2 separate regions of the Homo sapiens genome follow, and region 2 is linked to region 1. The links are contacts of gene promoters, found by promoter capture Hi-C in human tissues and cell types (Jung and others, 2019). All regions are on one chromosome and are shown on one strand. Each heading gives the region's core, a stretch centred on a gene start or on the middle of the fragment in contact. The rest is flanking DNA. Distances are from core to core; before and after follow the strand shown.

Region 1 (6,356 bases), core at 1,360-3,859:
ATTAATAACTTTTTTTTTTTTGAGAAGTCTCACTCTGTGGCCCAGGCCAGAGTGCAGTGGCATGATCTCCGCTCAGGGTAAATTCTGCCTCCCGGGTTCAGGCGATTCTCTTGCCTCAGCCTCCTGAGTAGCTGGGATTACAGGCACCCGCCACCACGCCTGGCTAATTTTTGCATTTTTGGTAGAGTTGGGTTTCACCATGTTGGCCAGGCTGGTTTGGAACCCCTGACCTCAAGTGATCCTCCCACCTCGGCCTCCTTTGGATTACAGGTGTGAGCAACCATGCCTGGCTTCAACACTTAAATTGCCTTAAAGGAGTTTATGGTCTGGAGTTGGGTGCCACACAACACAGTCACTATGTGTGACAATTTAAATTTTATTTTTTTGTTTTTAATTAATTTATTTTTTTGAAAGCTCTGTCATCTAAGGCTTGAGTGCAGTGGTGCCATCTCAACTCCCCGAAGACTGTCTCCTGGGCTCAAGCAATCTGAAATTTTAATTAAAATGAAATTAAATAAAAATTTTTAGGCCAGGCATGGCGGCTCACACCTGTAATTCCAGCACTTTTGGAAGTTGAGATGAGCGTATCACTTGAGGCCAGGAGTTCCAGCCCAGCCTGGCCAACATGGTGAAACTCCACCTCTGCTAAAAATACAAAAATTAGCCAGGCATGGTGGCGCGTGTCTGTAGTCCCAGCTACTCAGGAGACTGTGGCAAGAGAATCACTTAAACCCAGGAGATGGAGGTTGCACTGAGCTGAGATTGTGACACTGCACTCCAGCCTGGGTGACAGAGTCAGGCTCTGTCTTGGAAAAAAAAAAAATTAAAAATGCCTTGGTTGCCTTAGCCACATTTCAAGTGCTCAATAGTCATATGTGGCTAGTGGCTGCTGTAGTGCACGACACTCACACAGAATAACTCTGTAACCAATATTCTACTGGAGACAGAATCGATCCTATGGAATTCAAATTCAAATCCTATGGAATTGTACAGTTATGTAACATCTCAGAGCACTGGCTCCACATCCCTGTCTTGGCTCTCTGTGGCTCATCAGTTCCAGAATAACTCCGTTACCAGAATAACTCCATTACTAAAATTCTACCGGGCAGCACTCTATAGGAGGGAATAGAGACAGACACCACATATATTGCACACACAGATAAAATGGATTAAGGAAAACAAGATAATAATAGTGAGAGGGACTGGTTGGCTACTTTAGATTGAAGGACCTGTGAAAAATGTCCAGGGAGGTCATATTTAAGCCGGGATAAAAATGAAAAGGAAAAAAGTGAAAATGGTGGGGCTGGGGAGCTAGATGGAGAACACAGCCACGGAAAAGGCCTTAGGGTTGAGGCAAGTTGGAAAGAAAGCTCTAGTAGCTGGGGCTGAGTCAGCAGGGGAGAGAGTGGTAGAAGAAATCTATGGGGTAGGTCAGGGCCAGACCACCAGGGCTTCAGTAATTTGAGTAAAGATTTAGGAATTATTATTATTATTATTATTATTATTTTTCTGAGAGAGTTATGAGAGGGTTATAAGTGGGGGAATGATGTAGTCTGATTATATATTTACCTTTACCTCACTTATCCTGATTTCATTAGTTGCTTACTTACCCATGTCCCTGCCCGATTGCACAAGTCTGGATTTTTGACGTCCCTAGTATATTGAGTCATGTCCCATCAGCTCAATATGTTAGTAATAACTGGTTGAATTGAATTAGCTTTTTTTTTTCAATCTTTTTTTCCTTAAGAAACAGGGTCTTGCTCTGTCACCCCGGCTGGTGTGCAGTGGCACAATCATAGCCTCCAACTGCTGGGCTCAAGCAACCCTCCTGCCTCAGCCTCCTGAGTAGCTGGGACTACGGTCAGGTACACAAGGCCTGACTATATTTTTTGTTCGTTTTTTTTGCAGAGAGGGAGTCTTGCTATGTTGCCCAGGTTGGTCTCAAACTCCTTACCTCAGGTGATCCACTTGCCTTGGCCTCCCAAAGTGTTGGGATTACAGGCGTGAGCCACTGTGCCTGGCAAGAAATGAATTTTTATTTTTATTTTTGAGATGGAGTTTTGTTCTTGTTGTCCAGGCTAGAGTGCAATGGCTTGATCTCGGCTCACTGCAACCTCCACCTTCCAGGTTCAAGCAATTCTTCTACCTCAGCCTCCTAAGTAGCTGGGATTACAGGCGCCCGCCACCACCCCCAGCTAATTTTTGTATTTTTAGTAGAGTCGGGGTTTCACCGTGTTAGCCAGGCTGGTCTTGAACTCCCGACCTCAGGTGACTGGCCTACTCGGCCTCCCAAAGTGCTGGGGTTACAGGCACGAGCCACCATGCCCGGTCAAGAAATGAATTTTTAAACGCTGCCATACAAAACACTATGCTGAGATCATCCACTTCCCCATGAACCCTGTCATGAGCTGCAAGATACAGACCACCACTGCCTCCTTGGAAGTTACTGAATTCTTAGACCAGAAGAGGAGTTAATGAAGTACTAGGCAAGCTTACTCATGTTTGTATGGTTTAATGATTAACAGCAGAAGTCAACAGCCCGATTTAACGCATGTGGGTGCTTGACACAGAGCCTGCTATATAGTATTCTCCAAAAACCTCAGCTAGTGCTATTACTGCATATGATGTAGGTTTAGTTTTCCAAGTTCTTCCGTGGCCCTTTTTGCTTATTATATCAATCCTTGGTGGGAGATAGAGGAAGCATTTTTAGTGCTATTTTACAACTGAGGAAATAGAGGTTTGAAGAGAACTCAGGAACTCTCAGGGTTACCCAGCATTGTGAGTGACAGAGCCTGGATCTGAACGTAAGTCTGCTCCAGACTTCTGTTTCCTGAAGCATTCTCTTGAAGTCCCTTGGTAAGGAGGTGTAGTCTGAAGCATGTTGTACAGGAGCATGAAAGGTTAGGCACAGTGATTCACATTCACTCTCAATTTCTCTTGCTAATGGCAAACTTGGCAATATGACTGTTAAGGCTAGGGATAAGTCGTTGTGGCCACTGAGTAGGAAAAGCTCCACGTCCACCAGAGGCCCAGTTTACTCTGAAAAGCAAGTGCATCTCTGCCACTGGAAGGCTGGCATTTGCTCTCGTGCTGCCATTGAGCCACGCTGGTTCTCTGCTTCCAGTTTCCTTTTCTTTTCTTTTTTTTTGTTTTGTTTTTTGAGACGGAGTCTTGCTCTGTCGCCCAGGCTGGAGTGCAGTGGCGCGATCTCGGCTCACCGCAAGCTCCGCCTCCCGCGGGTTCACGCCATTCTCCTGCCTCAGCCTCCCGAGTAGCTGGGACTACAGGCGCCAGTGACCACGCCCGGCTAATTTTTTGTATTTTTAGTAGAGACGGGGTTTCACCCTTTTAGCCAGGATGGTCTCGATCTCCTGACTTCGTGATCTGCCCGCCTTGGCCTCCCAAAGTGCTAGGATTACAGGTTTGAGCCACCGCGCCCGGCCCTGTTTCCTTTTTGTTTGTTCCCCTGATACCCTGTATCAGGACCAGGAGTCAGTTTGGCGGTTATGTGTGGGGAAGAAGCTGGGAAGTCAGGGGCTGTTTCTGTGGACAGCTTTCCCTGTCCTTTGGAAGGCACAGAGCTCTCAGCTGCAGGGAACTAACAGAGCTCTGAAGCCGTTATATGTGGTCTTCTCTCATTTCCAGCAGAGCAGGCTCATATGAATCAACCAACTGGGTGAAAAGATAAGTTGCAATCTGAGATTTAAGACTTGATCAGATACCATCTGGTGGAGGGTACCAACCAGCCTGTCTGCTCATTTTCCTTCAGGCTGATCCCATAATGCATCCTCAAGTGGTCATCTTAAGCCTCATCCTACATCTGGCAGGTAAGTGAGTAGGTGCCCTGGGCGGGAAGAAGGGAGTAGAGGGGGGTTAGAAGCCAGAGAATGGGGTAGGGGAAGGGGAGGGGATGGTGGTGGTGGATTAATGTAGATGTTCTTTGGGTACCGTTGTATGGCTATGAGTTAACTAGTGAGCAGGACCAGAATAAAGTTTTAGGCCAAAGAAATTGCTTAACTGCTGTGAATTACAACATTCATGGCTAAATGAACAAGGCAAGATGCAGCACAGTGTGTCACAGGCTGCCCTTTGTGTTTAAACAAAAAGGGTGTGGTTAGATGTATATGCATAGACACATGTATATAGGAAATAGTGACAGTGGGTAATGTGGGATGGGGGCAGAGGGTGGGAGGTGGAGGGAGAGTTAATCCTTATTGTATTTTTTTGTGCCTTCCGATTTTTTTCAGCCACATTCAATTCTCTTTCTTTCTTTCTTTCTTTCTTTCTTTCTTTCTTTCTTTCTTTCTTTCTTTCTTTCTTTCTTTCTTTCTTTCTTTCCTCTCTCTCTCTCTCTCTCTCTCTTCATGAGGTCTCACTCTGGAGTGCAGTAGGGCAATCTTTTTTTTTTTGAGACAGAGTCTCACTCTGTCGCCCAGGCTAGAGTTCAGTGGCGTGATCTCGGCTCACTGCAGCCTCCGCCTCCTGGGTTCAAGCAATTCTCTGCCTCAGTCTCCCAAGTAGCTGGGATTACAGGTACCTGCCACCACTACCAGCTAATTTTTTTGTATTTTTAGTAGAGACAAGGTTTCCCCATCTTGGCCAAGCTGATCTTGAACTCCTGACCTTGTGATCCACCTGCCTCGGCCTCCCAAAGTGCTGGAATTATAGGCGTGAGTCACCGCGCCTGGCCTAGTTGGGCAATCTTGATTCACTGCAACCTCGACCTCCTGGGCTCAAGTGATTCTCCCACCTCAGTCTCCCAAAGTGCTGGGATTATAGGCGTTAGCCACCACATCTGGCCTAAGTATTTTATTTTGAAATAAACACTTTAATTCAAAACATTCTATGAGATAAGGAAAGAGTAAAATAGACATATCCTAATTTTTAAACACAAATTTCTGGAGTGATATATGCCTTTGGGATTATGGGGGAAAAATAATCTCTCATTATATACTTCTATAACCAAATTGTAATAGCATGCATTATATGTGTAATCCAAAAAAATGATACTAGTATTAGGCAAAATTAAACAAGAATTTCTTGGTGGCCGGGCGTGGTGGCTCACACCTGTAATCCCAGCACTTTGGGAGGCCAAGGCGGGCAGATCACGAGGTCAGGAAATCGAGACCATCCTGGCTAACATGGTGAAACCCCGTCTCTACTAAAAATACAAAAAAATTAGCCGGGCGTGGCGGCGTGTGCCTGTAGTCTCAGCTGCTGGGGAGGCTGAGGCGGGAGAATGGCGTGAACCTGGGAGGCGGAGCTTGCAGTGAGCCGAGATCACACCACTGCACTCCAGCCTGGGCGACAGAGCAAGACTCTGTCTCAAAAAAAAAAAAGAAGAAATTCTTTTTAGAAAGACTTTGTCTAAAAAAAAAAATTAAAAGAATGCTAGCATAGAAAAATGCTTATAATCTCAAATTTTAAAAATTCCAGCTATATCAGCTAACTTGGAAAAAGGGGAAAAACCTTCCAGCTATAATGTCTATTTACAAGGCTGGGCATGGTGGCTCATGCCTGTAATCCCAGCACTTTGGGATGCTCAGGTGGGTGGATCACTTGAGGTCAGGAGTTCAAGACTAGCCTGTCTCTACTAAAAATACAAAAATTAGCCGGGCGTGGTGGCATGTGCCTGTAATCCCAGCTACTTGGGAGGCTGATGCATGAGAATTGCTTGAACCCAGGAGGCGGGGGTAGCAGTGAGCCAAGATCTTTGCGCCACTGCACTACAGCCTGGGTGACAGAGCAAGACTCTGTCTTAAAAAAATAAAAAATAAACAATTAAAAAATGAATAAAATATTTTTTTAAAGAAAGTAAAACAAGTAAAAAAAATTAAGAGAATTTTTTTTTGGGGGAGGGGGAGACAGAGTCTGCTCTGTCACCCAGGCTGGAGTGTAGTGGCACGAGCTCAGCTTGCTGCAACCTCCGCCTCCCAGGTTCAAGCACTTCTCCCTGCCTTAGCCTCCTGAGTAGCTGGGATTACACCACTACACCCCGCTAATTTTTGTAATTTTTTTTTTAGTAGAGATCGGGTTTTGCCATGTTGGCTAGGCTGGTCTTGAACTCCTGACCTGGGTTGATCTGCCTGCCTTGGTCTCCCAAAGTTCTTGGATTACAGGCGTGAGCCATTGTGCCCAGCCAAGATGAAATAGTGAGGGCTCATTCTCAGTTTGTCTTTTCTTCTTTGCAGATTCTGTAGCTGGTTCTGTAAAGGTTGGTGGAGAGGCAGGTCCATCTGTCACACTACCCTGCCACTACAGTGGAGCTGTCACATCCATGTGCTGGAATAGAGGCTCATGTTCTCTATTCACATGCCAAAATGGCATTGTCTGGACCAATGGAACCCACGTCACCT
Region 2 (6,356 bases), core at 1,773-4,272, 170 kb after region 1:
ACAATAATGCCAGATTTATAAGTCAATCATTGCTAGGCACTTCTCTTTGGGTTTTACATTTTCCTATTGGGATAACTGATATTTATATGCAAAGTAATTTAAAATAGTTATGACTAGCTTTAAGGCATGCCCGATAATTGCATCTTTTAGGGTCTTTATTTTCCCCTCTCTCATGAAAGATTTTTTTTTTTTTTTTTACTCTCCTTGCTAACAGTACATTTCTGTGTGCCTTTTCCTTGTTGGCAACAAATATTTGGTGAAGAATAAATTTGGATAAACACTTTGGGTAGCGCTCAGCTTTACAAAAGGAGGGGAGATGAAGAGGGCATTCTGCTTAGCTGCCAGCATTTTTATAGGACTCAGACAAGTTTCTCTGGTTCCCCTGGAAGATTATTCTCAAAAATAGAAAAGGGGCTTTTGGAACTTGAAACCCACAACTGACCCTCTTTTGGTGTGTGGCGGTGGAAGTGGGGAGGAAAGACTTAGTTTTGTTTGAAGTAGCCCATATGATATGAAGAAACATTTTTAAACATTATTTTCCTGGACAACAAAACTGTAATTGGGTATTTTAGAGAAATTAAATGTTAATTGACTCCTAATGAGTTCCTAATAACACTGCTAAAAATGAGGGGAAAAAAACCCACTTTGCCATTACCGCATATTTTCTCTGGGGTATACACATTTTTTCCCCATTTTTCCCTGATGGTCATTAGCCATAAATTAGTGTCTCCCTGCAATTGTATTTACTGCTTTAAATGCCTTTGGCTAAGCAGTACTCAAACTTTTCACATCATATTAAACTTTTAAAGCAGTCTATTTTTCGTGTCTACAATATTCTTATGCAGAAAAAAAGACTCCCTGGATTATGAGGCTTGCTATTAAAATGCAACTCCAGGCCTGCTGGTCTACCAAAACTCTGAAAAAGTGACGGGGCATCACTTGATTATTGATCATGTGGGCTTGTCTGAAGCACATCTTGGAGGAGGCAAATGCATTAAAAGAGGTTCATGAATTGCTCTGAAAATACCATGAGAACACAGAGTCCTGAAGGCTCTGTCCTTTTTCACCTTTGCACAATATTGATGGATCAGGTGTGCGTGAGCGTGAGGTGGAGTCAGAGCCAGATTACGTGCGGGCAGATTTTTTTGTCCTTGTTGCCAGTGGCTTAAACGTAGCAGGACAGTGTAATACAAATACCACTAACTCTAATATAGCATCTTTCTTTTCACACCTCCTCTAGAATTTAGTAACAGGATGGGATTTGGGGAGCTGTAACAGATAAGGGATCAGCATATTTAGTCATGATACTTTATTACTGGTAAAAACTCACCCTACTCTTAGTAGTGGAGTCACCCAATAGGAGCAACACAGAAGAAAATATAAACATTGATCCAGAAGGGCTCCAAATGTCAGAAATGCTATGATTTTCTGGGCAACGTAGCTTTCTGAGTTGCTGAATATAATTGATCTCTGCCTTCTGGGTAAATTCCCATCAACTCCTCTCTGCTCCTTTAGAGCCAATGGATAAGAATTAGAACTCTGCTTTTGGATTCCAGTGTGCTATCCTTTGTCCATGAACAAATGCAAGCATGATGAGGCCACTTAAGGTAATGAAGACCCTCATGAATATGAAAAAAGTTGCTCAGTGCAAGAATGTATTAAGTGCAGTTAAATTATAATAGGGAGGTAATGGTTGGTATTAATATTAGTAAGTTGGTTCTAAGCTTTATAGCAGTATCAAGCTGTAGAATGAAAACCCACAGATATTATAGATGGAATAAGGTAGTATAAAGATCACTAGGACTGGATGTCCAAATATGCAGCTTCAGATCTAGCCTTGACCCTTTTGTTTGTGTGATCTTGGGGAAGTCATGTCACATCTCTGGATGTTATTTAACCCATTTACAAAAAGAGAGTATGATTAGGAGGTGGTACTGGCACCCTGTCGTGGTTATTGGCAATGCACGGGGGTATGTTTTGACTGAATATCACAGTGAGGTTGGACTATGCTCCAGGCATTTATTGGGGAAAGTAAATGTCTTGCAATGCAAGGCACATTGAAGCACAAAGAAGAATTATCTCATTTAAAATGCTAATAGTGTCCCAGCTGAGAAACACTGTGATGATCTTGACCTGCACTGTAGCTGTGATAGGTTTGTGAGAAATTGGGCTAAGGACAGAAAACAAGAAACCATTGCCAGATAAGTTCTGGGTTTTGTTTTTGTTTGTTTTTAAAAGAGATGGAGTCTTGCTCTGTTGCCCAGGCTGGAGGCACAGTTCACTGCAGCCTCCACCTCTTGAGCTCAGGCAATCTTCTCATCTCCACCTCCCAAGTAGCTGGGACCACAGGCAGGCACCACCATGCTTGGCTAAATTTTTAAAAAATTTTTCATAGAGATGAGGTCTTGCTATGTTACCCGGGCTGGTCTTGAACTCCTGAGCTCAAGAGATCCTTCTGCCTTGGCCTCCCAAAGTGCTGAGATTACGGGCGTGAGCCACCATGCCTGGCCCCATCGCCAGAGAACTTCTTGATCAGTTTTTATTTATTTTTAACAAGGTGCTTTCATAGAAAAGAGGAAAATAACACTTTCCACCAGCTTTGGAATTCCCTATAGGTCATGCCAGCCTCTAAGACATTTGTAAATCTTTTCATATTTCCTTGTTACATTTTTCAAGAAGTCCCTGAGGTCTTTCATGGGACACACATAACCATAGTAAAAAACAAAGTGTTCTCATTCCCCTTAACCTGTCCTTGTCTGGTGTGTGGAGCTTGCCCAAGTGTAGGATGGAATGAGAAGTGCGATGTAAATAACAGACTCCTGCTTCTGTGTGTGGTTCAGATATTAACTTTTCCAGAACAAAATCAAATAATGCTCTATGAAAACAGTCACCTTGGACCCAAAATGATGGGCTAAAAATGTTCCTTTTCTGGGAAGAATTGAACCATAACCTAAGCACAAGGAATTGGAGAATATGGAAGTTTGCTCAGGAAGGCCAATTTTCTTTTATAGATAGGGAAGTTGAGGAGGACTTATCTGAGATCACACAGCAAGGTACAGGCCAAGACAACATCACAGCTATTAGAGGGTACAGTATCTTGGTTTTGTACCAGACCCTTTCCAGGTTTCTTTTCCCAGGCAGAAGCTGGTTATGGGAGAAGCTCTAACAGACCAGGCAAAGTGTGAAGGACCTATGTGTCCATCAACCAGTCAGTTTCCAGTGTGCCAGTGATCTGAATTTCCCTAGGGCAGGGGAAGAACAACCCCACAGGTTCTTGTTTGTAATGGATCCCCTGAAACAAAAGGCCGATGAACAAGAGAAAAACAGAAGTTTAGTAACATGTATATTTCATATATATACATGGGAGACACCCAGAGAATAAGTTGTTCTTGATGTGGTGGCTTTGAATTCTAGTTTATACAGCATCTTCAACAAAGAGCAGTACATTTTTAGAGAAGTGATGAGATGAAGGAAAAGAACTTTGAGTCTTTAGGGGCAGCACCTTATGGAAAGGCAGATAAAGGCTTGTTAGTAAAGCTTGTACCATCTGCAGGCTGAAAAGGAACCAAAGTTGGTGATTAACTTTGTTCTCCCTGGTGTAAGGGGCAGGTGAAGGGGACACTTTTTTTCTTTTAAATTGATGTTCTACCTTTAAACAGGCAGAGGGAGGGCAGAGAACTCTCCTGCACCTGCTTCCTCTTTATTGTCGTTAACTCAACAGCCCTTCATATTTTGGGGCAGCCTATTTTGGTCTCCTACACTGGCGCCAAGCTAAGAGTTGTGGAGATACCAAATGGCCCTGACTTGGTCGTCTTTTGGTAGAGATAATTGCCTACTTGATGAAGGCTGTTATAGGGGATAGGACTCCTTCTGTTGTAAATGGCAGAAACTCAGTCAGCAAAACATTAAGAATTTATTGGCTTCTGCAATTAGGAAGGATGAGAGGTACTGTGGAATGCATGGCTTAGGACAGCCATCAGGACTCCCAGCTCTCAGCCTGCTTCCTTCTCCACTGTCTCCCCCCTCACTGAAGGCAGACTCTGTTGGTCCCCATGAGCACATTTGGTGGAGTCATTGGCCACCCCAAACTCATAGCCTTCTAGTACCATCACAGCAGAGAAAAAAGGCAGTCTTCCTTACCTGTTCCAGCAGAACCCACCCTCCCACCATCCACCTCTGGAGGAGATTGTTAGGGTCCTAGTCCATCCTAGTCCATCTCTGAATGAACTACTGTAGCCTTGGAGCTGGGGTTCTCTCTTTGGGCAGGATTGAGTGGTACCTTGGAGGTTAGGAGAAAAGGTGGAGAAGATTGTTCTCATAACTGCAGGAGAAAATGTTTTCGTTATCCAAACCCACAAATACGCTCAGTATAATCACACCCAAAGTATTGGACATAGGAGATACTTATGGCTGGAGTTCAAAAACACAGAGTAAGGTGTAAGTAAGGGAAAACTTTACAGAGAGGCTAGAACTCAAGGCAGACTTGCAGTTTTGGGAAAGAGTCATTGAGGCACTGGAAAAGTAGAATATTTTAAAGATGGGTCTTATGAGATGGAGAGTTTTGGAGAATGGAGACCTAGTCTTACATAGTATTTATAGTTATGGGGATCTGGTCTCCTTGGCATACAGTAGGTGCTCAATAGTTCTTGTTGGACAAATGCTGATTAGCTACCACCATATAGCATTTTGACTACTGCTGCAGACTTTTAGCTCAGGAGTTGGCTTTTTTTTTTTTTTTTCAAAAGGCCAAATACTAAATATTTTTTGTAGGCCATATAGTCTCTGTCGGAACAACTAAACTCTGGTGGTGGTGTGTGGGACTAGCCAGAGATAATACATAAACAAATGAGTGTGCAGTGTTGCAATCGGACTCTACTTACAAAAACAGGCGGTGCAGCAGATTTGGCTTGCAGGCTGCAGTTTGCTGATACCTGTACTCACTCATGTCCTGGCTTTCATCCTTACCAACCTCCAAGCCCATTTCGTACATAGCAGCTAGAGCAATCTTTTTCAAGATGTACTCAGAGCATGTCACTACATTGCACTAAAAAGTGGCTGCCATATTTATTTTTGGTAAAAATGCTAACTCCTTAATGTATATCCAAGTCTCTGCCTGGCCTGGCCTCTGTCTACCTCCTGAACCTCATCTGGAGCTCCTTTTCCTCCTTAGTGACGTGCACCAGACACTGGATGTCTTCTGTACTTGGGAGTTCGACAGCCTGTCCTACTTCACACCATTGCACATACTGTCACCTCAGCCTGGAACATTGCTTCTTCCCTTGTTTCTTATCCTTCACTTCTCAGCTAAATAGAACTTCCTCATAGACCTCATCTGTAATCCCCCGGTCTAAACTGGGCAATGCTCCCTTGCCACTGTGTTCTATCTATACTATTTGTTTTTGTTCTTGTCTTCCTAGAACACTTATCACTATGTGTAGTTATTCATCCATTTGTTAGATTACTTCTTTGTTTTTCTTCCACTAGACTAGAAGCTCAGGGAAGGCAGGGACTATGTCTGTTTAGATCACTCTTAGGTACTTAAGGACCAGGTGTAACGTGGTCCTGGTATACTGCAAAAGTACAAGGTATACTATGGAGCTCTATAAATGTCTGAATGACTACAGAAATGTAAAAGTAGGATTGACAGTTTTGTTTCTTACCTTAATCTTACCTGACTTCAGATTCAAAATATGAGCTGTTTATATGACAAAATCAGAGTCCATTCAGGCTGTCCAGGACTTCTCATGATCATGCTAGCTGATCATCTCTCTCAGCAATTTGGATGTTTGTTTGTTTGTTTGTTTTGTTTTGAGACGGAGTCTGGCTCTGTTGCCCAGGCTGGAGTGCAGTGGCACAATCTTGGCTCACTGCAAGCTCTGCCTGCCGGGTTCAAGCGATTCTCCTGCCTCAGCCTCCCGAGGAGCAGGGACTGCAGGCGCCCGCCATCACACCCGGCTAATTTTTCTATTTTCAGTAGAGATGGGGTTTCACCTTGTTAGCCAGGATGGTCTTGATCTCCTGACCTCATGATCCGCCCATCTCAGTCTCCCAAAGTGCTGGGATTACAGGCGTGAGCCACTGCACCTGGCAGCAATTTGGATTTTTTTTTCCAAAATTATGACATATGTGAGCTGTAGGAGTTAAAAAATAAAAACAAAATAATAAAATTATGATAGATTTCAAAATGTACAGAAAAAGAGCTGTGTGCCTACCACTCCGATGCTATTTCTGTTTGTTTCAGATGACTTCTATATTGTAAACATTTTAATTTTTAAAATGTTATACATTTATACATTTTTTCAGTAAAAAGCAATTTTATGTTCTCCTTGGGCTTTGTTTCCTGAAGCGGCAATTAT

The links. The method cuts DNA at HindIII sites, captures the fragments that hold promoters and counts their contacts. A contact is called where the count stands out against the background at its distance.
Region 2: a contact is called between a fragment that was not itself captured here and the fragment with the promoter of HAVCR1 in region 1, in 3 of the 25 tissues and cell types used here (lymphoblastoid cells, neural progenitor cells and thymus).

The regions. Positions count from the first base shown.
Region 1 is chr5:157,055,369-157,061,724 of GRCh38, reverse strand. HAVCR1 (hepatitis A virus cellular receptor 1) reads left to right here and starts at 2,609. Exons shown (of 9, transcript NM_001173393.3): 1 at 2,609-2,804; 2 at 3,770-3,827; 3 at 6,192-6,356. The coding sequence starts at 3,782. The HindIII fragment of the contact is 13,602 bases long and covers 1-6,356 here.
Region 2 is chr5:156,880,850-156,887,205 of GRCh38, reverse strand. No RefSeq gene overlaps it. Among named protein-coding and RNA genes, the nearest start is that of PPP1R2B, 34 kb to the right of the region's middle. The HindIII fragment of the contact is 4,804 bases long and covers 621-5,424 here.